Linked DNA regions of Homo sapiens: regions 2, 3, 4 and 5 are each linked to region 1. The links are contacts of gene promoters, found by promoter capture Hi-C in blood cells and fetal thymus (Javierre and others, 2016). All regions are on one chromosome and are shown on one strand. Each heading gives the region's core, a stretch centred on a gene start or on the middle of the fragment in contact. The rest is flanking DNA. Distances are from core to core; before and after follow the strand shown.

Region 1 (2,792 bases), core at 211-2,710:
TGCCACAGGCCATTTACCTTGTGGCTTTTCTTTTGGGACCCAAAATTAAAAGATACGAGTATATTTGTTTGTATCCATCCAAGATATTCTAATATATTTAAATATTATATAGGCACATAGCCTACATTTGCACCCCCACTAAACAGCACCAATAAATCAGGCTTTTCATTCCATATCTGTTTTTATTTTGAGAAATTGGATAAAAACTGAGTGTGGCAAAATGACTCACAATTCGACAGCAACGCAGAGGACAGTGGCAGGTGTGAGGAGAGGAGAGGATGCTCAGAAAAGGGCTTCTACGCAGACCTCTGACCTGGGCAAGTTCTCTGGTAGAACAGGCTGGGCTGGGGGAGGGAAGAATTTCTAATAACACATTAAGCAGAGAGCCTAAAGCAGGAGACTCACACAGGAGTAAAACAGCTGAAAGAGAAGCTCTCAGGCTGGGCAATACTCACCAAGGTGGCTAGAGTAAAAGAGAGAGAGACGCAAAGGGCACCCCTACAAGGAAATAGCCTTCGCTTCCTGATTCTAAGCTCAGAACAAATCCTCCGTTGAGGAAAACTTGCTATTCTGCACCCTTGCCCCCACTCTTCCCAGTACAAACAAAATTAGTTTGGGTCAGAATTAGTTCTGTCTCTCAGGATGGCACTTCAGAAAGGCAACTTGCAAGGCTTAGGTAGAGACTGGCCACCAAGCTGAAAGCCATGAATCTGAGGCAGCTGGGAGAATACAAGGCTTCCGGCCTAGCCAGGTAGCTGCTTCAGGAATGCAGAGTCCCAGCACCAGCCGCTCAGCAGCTAGGAGGGTGGGAGGGGAGCTGGGTGGCACCACCGGCCACACACACCCCTGCGGCCTGTGGCAGGGGTGAAGTGGAGAACTCGGAACCAGACAAGGAGGAGATTTGGGGTAAGAAGTGGGGCTTGGATAAAATCAGAGATTGATTTAACCTTTCCATTCAGTCCTAGATTTCCAATGTCCACGTATTTACAGAAGAGACTGCGTCGGTCTCTTACATTTCTATAGAGAAGGGCTTAGGGGCTGCAACTGATTGGAGTAGATGAGGCTTACAGCCTCATTTCCTCAGCTTACACTATCCTGAAACTGAGAAAACATCAATTGTCTATATCAAAGAAAGAAAGCGGGAAAAAAAGTAAAGTAAAAGAGAAGGAAAGTAGGAAGAAGGGCCTTGAGATTAGGAGATGGCTAAATCCCTCCTTCAACCTCCAAAAGATTCCCCTAAACTGCCAAACTTGCAGGAACCTTCCTGGGGATCATACATCAGGATGAAATCCTCCACCCATGGGGCGTGCAATTCAAGGAGCCCCTACAAATTTGGGGACTGGGGAAAGGGAGCTAGAATGTGGAGCTCTCAGTCTTCCAGAGCAGGGGTTGGATCCAGGCCCTGCACCGGTAGCTTGGTCCCCTACCTTCCTCTCCTGCAGCCCGGAGCGCTCTGAGTCACAGCGGAGTGAAAACAGCTGCAGTCATAATTTCCGGAAAGAACCGCCCCCTTCTAGGGACCGGTTATAAAGTAGCGACTACAAGACTAAGGGATCAACGGAAAATTATTGAACAAATAATCGAACTTTCGCTTGTTTGTATCAAAGGAAAAGTCTTCGACTTTGGAACGTTTGGTTTTTTTCTTTGCTCTTTGCTAAGGAACAATCAGAGAACAGGCAAAGAGGGCAAGGGAAAATGCTGCAACAGGAACAACAACAATGACATTAAAAACTGCATATTTTTGTAAAAGCTTAATTGCCAAAGGCTTACTGTGTCCTGGGCCCTGTTAATCAAAGCTTTATGGAGATTATATCATTGACACCTTATCTCTAATGTGAGTCATTTTCCCCCAAGTTGCCCCTCCCCTACAGCAGGGGGAAAGATAAGGAGATAGTGCAAGGCACACACATCTGCTCTAATGAGAGAAGCTCTAGCCAGGGAAGCCCAAGTCTTCCTGTCATGGGTCGCTTATGGGATCCTGAAACCAAATGTTTGGGTTAACGATGTAAGTAACTGAGAATGTCTATGCTCATTTACCTGGCTAAAGGACATTAGAAGCGATCAAGGTCCCCATGGCTTCTCTATTTCAAAACAACCTATTAAATCTGAGACTTAAAGTGTCATATTGCTGTCGAGAATCTATAGGATAAAGAATACATGATACATATGGAAAACACAGCTTGATTTTGGTCTCTGTGATGTATTTTTTGTGGATATACTTGTTATATACTGGTTATATACTTGTTTTTGTGAGATATTTGTTATATACAAATAACTCTCCCCAAGTTATTTGTTCTCTCATCTGAAACGGGGATAATGACAAACCTCCACTGATTGTTTTTGTGAGATCTAATGAATCTTAGTGGCTATAAAAGTTTTATATATATATATATATATATATATATACACACACACACACACACACACACACATTTATATACTTTATATATATACACCCACATACACATTTATATACATGGATGTGCATGCATAGATGTATATATGTGTATATATGTACACCCATGCATGTATATACAGTTACATGCATGTAATATATGCATATATAGTAAAGCATAATATAAGCACAAATTCTATTTTATCAGTACTAGGCCCTACAACCATGTTTTTTACATGTACTGAACTAATTATGAGAGGAAATTATCCTTTTCTCTGGAGAGAAATCATGTCTGGTATTGTTCCTTGTGACTGTGCCTTCTTTCCATTGGCCGAAACATCTGAGCAACAAAAGGGAGGAGCTGGAAACGTGGGCAGAGTTCATCATCTGATCCTGC
Region 2 (2,792 bases), core at 149-2,648, 490 kb before region 1:
ATATCTCTGTTGACTAATGAAGTTGGCTACTTCGGCCATTTGGATATCTTCTTTTGTGGATGGATGTGGGTGTACGTCTGAGTCTTTTGCCTGTTTTTCTGTTGGGTTGTCTGTCTTTTGCTTATTGATTTGTAGTACTCTTTCAAATATTCTGGATGTGAGACCATTGCTAGCAATATGTTTTATTTATATCTTCTTCCACTCCACTTGTTGCCTTTTCATTCTCTTAATGGTGTCTTTTGATGACCAGAATTTCTAATTTTAATACAGTCAATGTATCATTTTTTTCTATGGATAGTGCTATATGTATTCTGTTTAAGAAGCAATTGGTTATTAATTACAATACCATGAAAAATGTTTCCTAGGTGTTCTCCAAAATATTTTTGTTTTATCTTTCTCATTTGGGTCTGCAGTTCATCTATAATTTTTTTTAACATATGGTATGAGATATGAGTCAAGAAATATTATTTTCCATATGGCTATCCAGCTGACTCAGCACAATTTATTGTAAGACCTTTCCTTTCTCATTGCAGTGCAGTGTTGTCATGGTCATAAATCAGGTGACTGTGTTCCAGCTGACAATGTCTTTTTTTTTTTTTTTTTTTTTTTGCCAACACTACAATATCTTAGCTAGTATAGCTTTATAGTAGGTCTTGGCACCTGTAGTGTAGATCTTCCAGTTTTATTGTTCTTCAGGATTGCTCTGGCTATTTTGGATCTTTTGCATTTCTACATGAATTTTACCATCAGTTTTTGAATTTCAGCAGGAAAGAAACCTGCTGGAATTTTTGATTGTGACTTTAATTTACAGCTTAATTTGGGAAAAATTGCCTTCTTTACAGCATTTAGTCTTCAAATCTATGAACATGGCATATCCCTCCATTTGCTTAAGACTTCTTTCTGAGGCCGGGTGCAGTGGCTCACACCTGTAATCCCAGCACTTTGGGAGGCCAAGGTGGGTGAATCACCTGAGGTCAGGAGTTCGAGACCAGCCTGGCCAACATGATGACAACCCATTTCTAGTAAAAATACGAAAAATTAGCTGGACGTGGAGACAGGTACCTGTAATCCCAGCTACTCGGGAGGCTGAGGCAGAAGAATCACTTGAACCCGGGAGGTGGAGGTTGCATGAGCCGAGATCGTGCCACTGCACTCCAGCCTGGGCAACAAAAGTGAAACTCTGTCTCAAAGAAAAAAAAAAAAAAGACGTCTTTCTGTCCGTAGCAACTTTTGGTTTTAAGTGCAGATGTCTTACACATCTATTGTTGGATTTATTCCTAGGTGTTTGATGTTTCTTGATGCTATTGTTAACCATATATTTTTTAAAAAATTGATTTTCTAATTGTTTGTTGCTCACATATGAAAATACAACTGATTTTTGTACACTGATCTTGTATACGTCAATCTTATTGAATTCATTTATTGATTCTAATAGTTTGTAGATTAATTCAGATTTTTAAAAATCTATACAACCATATCATTTATGAAAAATCACAGCTTTCTTTCTTTCTTTCTTTCTTTCTTTCTTTCTTTCTTTCTTTCTATCGTTATGCCTTTTATTTATTTTCTTGCCTTATTACACTGGTTAGGCCATCCAGTATAATATTGAATATGAGTAGTGATAATGGGTATCTCTGTCTTGTTCCTTCTCTCAGGCGGAAAGTTTTCAGTGTTATTATTGAGCAGGATGTTCATTGTAGGTTTTTTTCCTTTTTTTTTATTGGTAGGAATTCTTTTTCACATTAAAGAAGTTCTCCTTTATTCCTAGCTTGCTAAGTGTGTTTGATATGAATGAATATTCAATTTTTAAAAATATTTTTTCTGCATACTTTGAGATGCTCATATGATTTTTATCTTTATGTGTATTATTTTGATGAGATATATTGATCAATTTTTGAATGTTAAATTACTCTTGCATCTGTGAAATAAATCTCACTTAGTTCAGATATATTACCTTTTAAATTTTTTACTGGTTTCAGTTTGCTAATATTTTGTTAAGGATTTTTACATTTCTATTTAAAAAGAAGAAAGAACTTGATTTAATTTTCCTTTTTTATCAGGTCTTTGGCAGGTTATGCTGGCCATGCCAAAAGAGTTAGGAAGTATTTCTTCTTTATCTGCCTCCTCTTGTAAGAGTTTGTGCAGTATTGGTATTATTTCTTCATTAAATATTTGGCAGAATTTACAGGTGAAACCACCTAGTCTTGGGATTTTCTTTGTGTGGAATTTTAGTAATGGATTCAATTTCCTTAGTCAATATTTGACTATTCAGATTTTCTTTTTTTTAACTTTTACTTTATTTTATTTTTTTTGATATGAAGTCTCACCCTGTTGCCCAGGATGGAGCACAGTGGCGCTATCTCGGCTCACTGCAACCTCTGCTTCCAGAGTTCAAGCGATTCTCCCACCTCAGCTTCTGGAGTAGCTGGGATTACAGGCGTGTGCCACCATGCCCAGCTAAGTTTTGTATTTTTAGTAGAGACAGGGTTTCACCATGTTGGCCAGGCTGGTCTCGAACTCCCAACCTCAGGTGATCCCCCCGCCTCAGCCTCCCAAAGTGCTGACATTACGGGCGTGAGCCACCGCGCCTGGCCTGACTAATCAGATTTTCTAGTTTCTCTTAACATAGCTTAAATGCACTAGCTTTCTATTGTTGCATAAAAAATTACCCCAAAATGTAGGGCTTAAAACAAAAAAAATTTATTATCTCAAATATTCTACAGATCAGAAATTTGGGAGGGGCTTAGCTAGGCTGTTCTGGCTCAGGGTCTAGTGAAGGTGTTGATTGGGGC
Region 3 (2,792 bases), core at 150-2,649, 470 kb before region 1:
CATAAATAGGCCTTCCTAGGAAGAACATGGGCTTTGGCCTTTGTGTTAGGATTTTTTTTTTTTTTTTGAGACGGAGTCTCGCTTTGTCGCCCAGGCTGGAGTGCAGCGGTGCCATCTCGGCTCACTGCAAGCTCCGCCTCCCAGGTTCACGCCATTCTCCTGTCTCAGCCTCCCGAGTAGCTGGGACTACAGGCGCCTGTCACCACGTCCGGCTAATTTTTTGTATTTTTAGTAGAGACGGGGTTTCACCGTGTTAGCCAGGATGGTCTCGGTCTCTCGACCTCGTGATCCTCCCACCTCGGCTTTCAAAAGTGCTGGGATTACAGGGTTGAACCACCGCGCCCAGCCTCTATTCAATTTTTATGTCAGTCTTTTTTCTCTCTGCGTTTCAATTTGGATAATTTCTATCACTGTGTATTCAAGTGCATTGATATTTTCTTCTGCAGCATCTGATGTTAATACAATCAAGTCATTATTTTTCTTTACAGATATTATATATGTTTTAATCTCTAGATGTTCCATTTGGTTATTTTTGGTATCTTCCATTTCTCTCAGCATCATGTTTACTTTAAAAAAAATATTGACTATATTGAACGTATAATAGCTAATTTTAAAGCTCAATTTGCCAGTTCCATCATCTCTGTCATTTCTGGGATGTTTCTGCTAAGAAATTTCTTCTGGCTACAGGTCACATTTTTATGTTTCTTCCACATCTAGTAATTTTCAATCAGGCACGGACATAATAGATTTTATGTTGTTGAGTGCTAAATTTTGTTATATTCCTTTAAGGTGTGTTGGGAATTCTTTTGGAAGGCTTTTAAGCATCTTGAGGGTCAATTTGATCTTTTTGAAGTTCATTTTTAAGCTTAACTTAGGTATCAAGCCAAAGTCTCCGGTAGACCTCTGTGCAGATTTGTGGGGTTCTTTTTTGCAGAGCTCCCTCTTCTCACTTTCTGCTCCACAGCTTCCTGCTGCTCTGACCTTCCTGAACACGTCTGTCTCTTCACTTCAGTGAGACTACCAAGCCCTTTTTCTTCCTGATCCCTGCCTTCCTGAAATTGCCTCTAAGCAGGAAATTCTCATTCGTTTTCCCTTTTCTCCCTCTGGAATAACAATCTTCTGCTACCTTTTGTCAATGTCTGAAGACAGTTGTTTTGCACATTTTTTTCTGGTTTTCTAATGATTTAGGGTAGGGGGCAAGTCAGGACCCTGTTACTCCATCATGATTAGAAGAGAAAGTCTCAACCCTCCTTTTTCTTGAAGCATCTTTCCTATAGTTTTAATGTGCATTTCTTGTATGAGAAAAGTTGAATATCTTTTTATATGTTCAAGAGCCATTAATATATCTATTTTCTCTGAAGTCTCTATTTATGTCTTTTGCTCATTTTTGTCTTGGGTTGTAGGTCTTTTTATTTTCAAATACTAGAAGGTCATTATTAAATATATTAGCTTTTTGTCTGAGATATAAATTCCATATAGATTTTTCTCATTTTTTATCTTCTGACTTTTCTTACAATTTTTTTCCAGGCAAAAAGCGCTTTCTAGAATATAGTCACATTTATTAAAATTTTATTTATAGGCTCTGGGTTTTGAATAATTGTCTGCCAAGTATAATCTACTTTCAGGTTATAAATAACTTCGTCTATGTTTCATTTTCCTTTCCAGAACTTGTATGAATTTAATTTTTACATTTGGATGTATTTGAAATTTATACTGTTTGTGGTGTGAGAAATAGATCTAATTTTATTATTTTTCATAAGGCTATCCAGTTATACCCTCACCGTTAAAAAACGATAACCTATCCTTTCCCCTGTTGATTCTAGTTGCTACCTTCATCAAATATTAAACTACATTTTGATTTGTTTTATATTCTGTTCCAGTGGACTACCACCCCATTCACGTGCTAATATTTTGCTTTAATTACAGAAGCTTTAATTATGTTGTTTTCACGTATGTTAGGGTTAGCTTCTACAAGTTGTGATCCCTCATGCCCCCAGGATTTTCCATGGTATTCTTGCCTATTTATTCTTTCAGACGAACTTCATTATCAGTTTGTCTTCCTCCAGACAAAAAAAAAAAAAAAAAAAAAACAAAAAAAACCCTCCTACTATATTTATCAAGATCATGTTACATTTACAATCTTAGAACTAACTGATACATTCTGGTGTTGAGTCTGACAATGGGAGACCACCGTATGCCTTTCTGTTTGTTAGATATGCTTTTGTGTCCTTTAGGTATGTGCGTACTTTTAGTCATGTAGGTTTTGTACATTTTTAAACTAGATTTTTGATTAGAAATTTTATTTTCTATTGTAATGAGATCTATTGTGACATGTTCTACCAGGTTATTGTTTGTATACGAAGTATATTGATTTCTAATTTTACTCCTGCAACGTAACTGGTATTGTTTTTAGTATGTTTCATGGATTATTTTGGAATTTCCAAAAAATTAATAATAGTATCTGCCTATACAGATAGTTGTACCTCTTCCTTTATGATTCTTTTGCCTTTAATTTCTTTCTCTTGTCTAATTGCATTGGTTCCCTACTTTACAATATTAATTAATAGAAGAGATAGTAGACATATTGGTCTAGTTCAGGCTTTAATGGGAATGTATCTAATATTTTTACTATAAGGATGTTTTCACATTTACCTTTAGAATATGTCATTGATTCCTATTTCACTGAATATTTAAAAATAATGATTGAACTATTGAAGGTATTGAATTTGATCAAACGCTCTTTCATGTGCTCTTAGTGCCGCCCCCTCCCATCCTAAGTATTTCAAATCCTC
Region 4 (2,792 bases), core at 195-2,694, 280 kb before region 1:
TCAAAGGGTGCAAAGTTTTAATTAGAAAGGAGGTATATGTTTTTGGAATCTATTGCACTGACTGGAGAGTATAGTTAATAATAATGCAATATATATTTCAAAATTGCTAAGAGAGTAGATTTTAAGTGTTTACACTACAGAAAATCAGTATGTGAGTTGATAGGTGTGTTAATGATCTTAATTTAATAATTTCATGATGTATACATTTATCAAAACACCACATTGTATCCCATAAATACATATAATAATTACTAATAAAAAATAAGAAAACAAAAGTTTATACATCTCTTTTAAGATGGATATTTTTGGCTGGGTATGGTGACTCACTCCTGTAGTCCCACCACTTTGGGAGGCCAAGGCAGGTGGATTACTTGATCCCAGGAGTTCAAGACCAGCCTGGGCAATATGATGAAATCCTGTCTCTATAAAAAATACAAAAATTATCCAATGGTGGTGGCATGTGCCTGTAGTCCCAGCTACTTGGGAGGCTGAGGTGGGAAGATCTATTGAACCTGGGAGGTTGAGGCTGCAGTAAGCTGTGATTGCAGCAAAGCAGGACACAGTCTCAAAAAAAAAAAAAAAGAGAATTCTGTATCCTGACTTAGGTGGTGGTTACATAAATATGTACATGGGATAGAATTGCATAGATTTGCACACACATACATACGAGCATGTTAAACTAGTGAATAAGGTCTGTAGTTTCGTTAACATTATTGAACCTATGTCAATTTCCTGGTTTTGCTATTGTCCTATAGTCGTGGAAGACATCGCCATGTGAGGAAACTGGGTGAAGAGTTCAAGGGAATCTACGTATGACTTTTGCCACTTCTTGTGATTCTAGTAATTTTAAAATAAAAAGGTAAAAAAATAGATGCCTTCTCACAAGCACAAATTCCTACCTACAGAGAAATTCTAAAGTCACACTGTCTTGAAATAACGGCCCATGAATAGTGATTTTTCTTACGGATTTGATTTTAACATGAAAGACAAAGACATGTTGAGTTAGAGCAACCCAAGGTAAATACATTTTTATGAAATAAAGGATAATTCTATGTTACACAAAATTTTTATTAAAAAATCTGAAATCAATTAAAAGTATCCCTTTTCTTTATGCCTATGAAGTATGCAAAAGTAAAAATGGATTATTTGAAAGATTATTTAAAAGGACTCACAATATTAAAAATGAGCATATAAACTTCACTAAATTATACTTACATTCCTGTTAAAGCTAATATACTACCTAGGATTATAATTAGCAAAAATTCTGACAATCATTACATTTACATCTTTATACATGAGAGCAGATGCTCTTTCTCCTATGCCCTGTGGATTGTATAATCCCTGATGAGAAATTTACCTCTACTACAACAAATTAGGCTGTAAACAAGGGCATACAATTTCTTCCCTGCAGAGTTTGTCATGGTAGGGGAGGTCCTGAGAGAGACTTACTGGGGGATATGTAATCAGGTCCAAAAGAATTGTAAGCCTTGAGCAAATGCCATGTGCTCTATGACATGGTAGCTCTGGTTTGAAGTGCAGTTTTCCAACAAACCCTCTTGGCAAATTTATAAATAATAGTTTGATCTACACCACAAAATGATTCCCAGAACATTCAGATTCTGAGATCTCTGCTCAATGCTTTTGCCAGTCAAGGGAGAAGAAGATTCTGTGACTACATCTGATCAACATAGATACCTTCACAGCCATTTCTTCCTCCAGGGCAGTGGAGGTGAAACACATATCAATGGTCAGCACTGAGTTCTCTGAGTGGAAGGAAGGTGAGTTAATCAAGTTTCTATTTCTCTCTCCTGGATGTTGCTGAAAAATGGGGAAAAGTATTCTATTCAATAGCAAGAAACTTAGTGGTATGGAGCTCTGACTCTTGGGCTTGCATTTTTCTCACACTGTTCTCTCTGTTGGCTTCATTCTTAGCCTGGTATCAAGATAGCAATAGCAGTTCCAAGTGACACATCCAGAACAGAGGAATGCCAGGAAAGGATATTTGTCTCTTTATTAAAAAATATATTGACATGTGCTATACATATAGAAGAGTTTAAGGGTCATAAAAATACCAGTTTGGTAAAATTTTACAAACTTAACAACTAATATAACTGTACCCAAATTAATTATGTTTCTCTTATGCCTTCCTACAAAGACCTGTGAAAGCACATTCAGCTTCCTTTCTTCATCCTGTCTAGCTAGGATGGAATAGAGGAGAATGTGTAGAAACACTTATGTGATTTGTATGTGGTGAATCATAAGGCTTTGACTACTAAGGGTCTTCTGTTATCACCTGGTGACTTCATGGATTCTTATAGTAAGGTATCTAGAAACCCTATAGGAGACCCCTGTCTAGGAAACAGAATATCGGTATGGTCTCTGCCCTAAAGGAATCCTCCCTTACCTGGTGGTCATCACAAGGAAACTGAAGTGTCTAGTAGAATAATGGAAACATAAGTAGAAACTAGGAAGTGGCCAGGCTCGGTGGTTCACACCTGTAATTCCAGCACTTTGGGAGGCTGAGGCAGGTGGATCATCTGAGGTCAGGAGTTTGAGACCAGCCAGACCAATATCATGAAACACTGTCTCTACTAAAAATACAAAAATTAGCTGGGATCGTGGCATGTGCCTGTAATCCTAGCTACCTGGGAGGCTGGACAGGAGAATCTCTTGAACCCGGGAGGCAGAGGTTGCAGTGAGCCGAGATCCCACCATTGCACTCCAGCCAGGGCAACAAGCGTGAAACTCCATCTTAAAAAAAAAAAAAAGAAACTAGGAAGTGAAGGGCCAGA
Region 5 (2,792 bases), core at 111-2,610, 260 kb before region 1:
GGACAAGAGCTCAGGAACTGCTGAATGTGGGTACAATCTATAAGACAGGCAGGCTGAGTGGGTGGGGTGCCTCTAGCAGCAGGACACGGGCTGAGCAAGGCCCTGGCAGGGGGTAGGGGGTGTCACAGGCCATGGAAGTCCCCAGTTGGCAAAGTGGCTGAGAAAAATCCTGCATCATTACTACTGTGAATGAACTTAGGGCAAGATGCCCCTCAAAGGATATATCATAGGTAGGGGACATGATTAATTATCATTGTAATTTTTATGTTTATGCAGATACCATAATTTTTGAAAAGTTCTAAAACATTTTGTGAGAATAGCCTTAGAAGATGATATTTCTGGCTAAGTACTTTACTTCTATGTGATTAAAATTATTGGTGTTAGAGTGAAGAGTCAAGTTTTTATATTCATTATGATATTTATCTTACTTAATTTTGTTTAAAACTTTTATTCCTGAAGCAGAGTCTGAATGTCTGTATTTGCTTCTACCTTTCTTGTGCCTACATTCATTATAGTGCCTGGTTAAAGAGAAACCTTAAAACTGTTTGGTTTGGATTTTGCTCTAAAGCACATATTTTAGAAGTTCACGTTTTAATGACATAGAAAAAGGTGTATAAAATTCATGTCTATAACCACCCAGTACTTAACAAAAAAGTAAAATGTGAATTGCAGGCATAGAATATACATTGTGATCTGAGTACTGTATTGTAGTCACCAGCACTCCTTCATGGAAAATGAATCAGCAACTAGCTTGACTTAGTTCTGTGAAGTCAACAGGCTTATTTTACAGGTTGAATTTCTTGTGTTGACCTGGCAAGTGTAACTGATTTTTTTAATTAAAACCATTTCTAATAATATTTATAACTAATGTTTAAATTAAAGCCTATTATCTTTTAAAATTAATGTAATGAGGCCAGGCGCGGTGGCTCATGCCTGTAATCCCAGCACTTTGGGAGGCCGAAGTGGGAGGATCACCTGAGGTCAGGCGTTCAAGACCAGCCTGACTGACATGGAGAAACCCCATCTCTACTAAAAATACAAAATTAGCCGAGGGTGGTGGTGCATGCCTGTAATCCCAGCTACTCAGGAGGCTGAGGCAGGAGAATCACTTGAACCTGGGAGGCAGCGGTTGTGGTGAGTCGAGACGGCTCTGTTGCACTCCAGCCTGGGCAACAAGAGCGAAACTCCATCTCAAAAAAAAAAATTAATGTAATGAGAAAATTAGACATAAAATAACTTTCGAATGTATAAGCTTATTTTACAATTACTGAATGTTTACAAGCTTTGTATGTGTAATTTGGTAAAGATATAGCTATTGTCAAATACTTGTTTCTTATTTGTTGTATCACAGTTTCTCCATGCACACAATTCAAACTGGAAAAACATACTAACATATGTTAAAGACACATAAAATCTTTCTTTTTTACATAAAAGCTTAATTATATTAATTACATATATTTTAAACACAGATTATATTGCATTAACTTAAAATGGCAATATCCCAAGGTTTAACTTTCAGGAAAAACGTTAAGTTAGAAATTATATTTTGAGGTTCATGAAATGGTGCCTATTGACCAACCAAGTTCACTTCATCACCCGAAGGAATTGAAATGTTACCAGGTCCTGGATTTGACATAGCAGCAAGGCTGACTTATTAATGAAAAGGTTTTGAGGTACTTCTTTCCAAACGTCTCATTCTTTCTCCTTTATGAAAATAGATTGGGACAGAGCTTTCTAACTACTGCACAGCAGATAGAATGGCAAAAGGGGTTTGAGGTTAAGGTACTGAGCCTAGGATAGCCAGGTTGGGAATTTCAGTTTGGTTGCTTTGGCAGATTTAGCTTGGGAAGGGCTCCTGGGTGGTCAAGAGTAAAGAAGTATGATGTGACAGCACAGCATGTCTTTGGCAGGAGCAAGAGCAGTGAGACAAGATAGCACTCATTGCTCCACTTTAAAATTCCAACCAAAGAGATGCTTCACCCCTGGATACCAGCTACAGCTGTCACATGCAGAGGGGGACACAGCTTATTGTGAACAAGAGGCCCATGGGTTTGCTGACGGGGTTTTCAGGTGCCCAAGAAGTACAGTGCCCAGCTTTAAGTGCTGCTCTCTGTGGTCTGGACTCTCTGTTCCCAGATCAGATACTTCTGCCCATTTCCAGCTGATATATTCTGTTAGTATCATCTGTTAGCATGACTGGTCTAAAAATGCACAAGTTTACTGCAAATTAGGGTATCTTTGTTATTTGGAAATATTAAGTAAAAAAGTGAACTTGGTTCCAAACTGCTTTAAAATAAAATTTGTCAATGAAAGAAAAGACCATTTGCATTATTTGAATGGGATTTCAATTTTAAATATTTGGCTGATTTTTTCAAAACAATTTTAAATTCTGTTACTTTTACATTCAAATTTGTTGTTGGTGGTGATTGTAAATATTTGTTAGTTATAATTACTAAGAATTCTCATGCAGTAATTACAAGTAGTTGTTTTATTCACAAAACCTGATAGAAAAAATTACTTTCCAGGAGCAAGCACCAATTTTTGTTGATTATTATGAAGATATTTTATTTGAAAATGTTATCTAATAAAAATAAAACATCACAATTCTGATTTTAAGTGTATTTTGGGTTTTAAATAATTTACATTAATGTGGTACATATTGAAAAGACTCTGTTTCCTTATTTTATCAACAAATTTATCATATGCATTGAAAAGTTCACAAAATATTCATTTATAATTAAATGAATAATGAAAGCAGTCAATGTAATCACTACCAAGTTCATAAAGCATTG

What was found. Contacts are between HindIII fragments. The CHiCAGO score rates a contact against its expected background, and 5 or more counts as called.
Region 2: a fragment that was not itself captured here is called in contact with the fragment with the promoter of VWA5A in region 1 in 1 of 17 cell types (total B cells); the score reaches 5.9 in total B cells.
Region 3: a contact is called between a fragment that was not itself captured here and the fragment with the promoter of VWA5A in region 1, in 3 of 17 cell types (naive B cells, total B cells and M2 macrophages). The highest score is 10.9, in naive B cells.
Region 4: a contact is called between the fragment with the promoter of OR8B3 here and the fragment with the promoter of VWA5A in region 1, in 2 of 17 cell types (total B cells and naive B cells). The highest score is 5.5, in total B cells.
Region 5: a fragment that was not itself captured here is called in contact with the fragment with the promoter of VWA5A in region 1 in 1 of 17 cell types (total B cells); the score reaches 5.6 in total B cells.

What each region holds. Positions count from the first base shown.
Region 1 is chr11:124,114,118-124,116,909 of GRCh38, reverse strand. It overlaps VWA5A (von Willebrand factor A domain containing 5A), which reads right to left and starts at 1,460. Exons shown (of 19, transcript NM_001130142.2): 1 at 1,428-1,460; 2 at 230-344. The HindIII fragment of the contact is 2,481 bases long and covers 1-1,752 here.
Region 2 is chr11:124,606,088-124,608,879 of GRCh38, reverse strand. No RefSeq gene overlaps it. Among named protein-coding and RNA genes, the nearest start is that of PANX3, 3.9 kb to the left of the region's middle. The HindIII fragment of the contact is 6,490 bases long and covers 1-2,792 here.
Region 3 is chr11:124,588,532-124,591,323 of GRCh38, reverse strand. No RefSeq gene overlaps it. Among named protein-coding and RNA genes, the nearest start is that of OR8A1, 20 kb to the right of the region's middle. The HindIII fragment of the contact is 1,064 bases long and covers 868-1,931 here.
Region 4 is chr11:124,397,676-124,400,467 of GRCh38, reverse strand. It overlaps OR8B3 (olfactory receptor family 8 subfamily B member 3), which reads left to right and starts at 1,444. Exons shown (of 2, transcript NM_001005467.2): 1 at 1,444-1,778. The HindIII fragment of the contact is 12,656 bases long and covers 1-2,792 here.
Region 5 is chr11:124,371,421-124,374,212 of GRCh38, reverse strand. No RefSeq gene overlaps it. Among named protein-coding and RNA genes, the nearest start is that of OR8B2, 12 kb to the left of the region's middle. The HindIII fragment of the contact is 152 bases long and covers 1,285-1,436 here.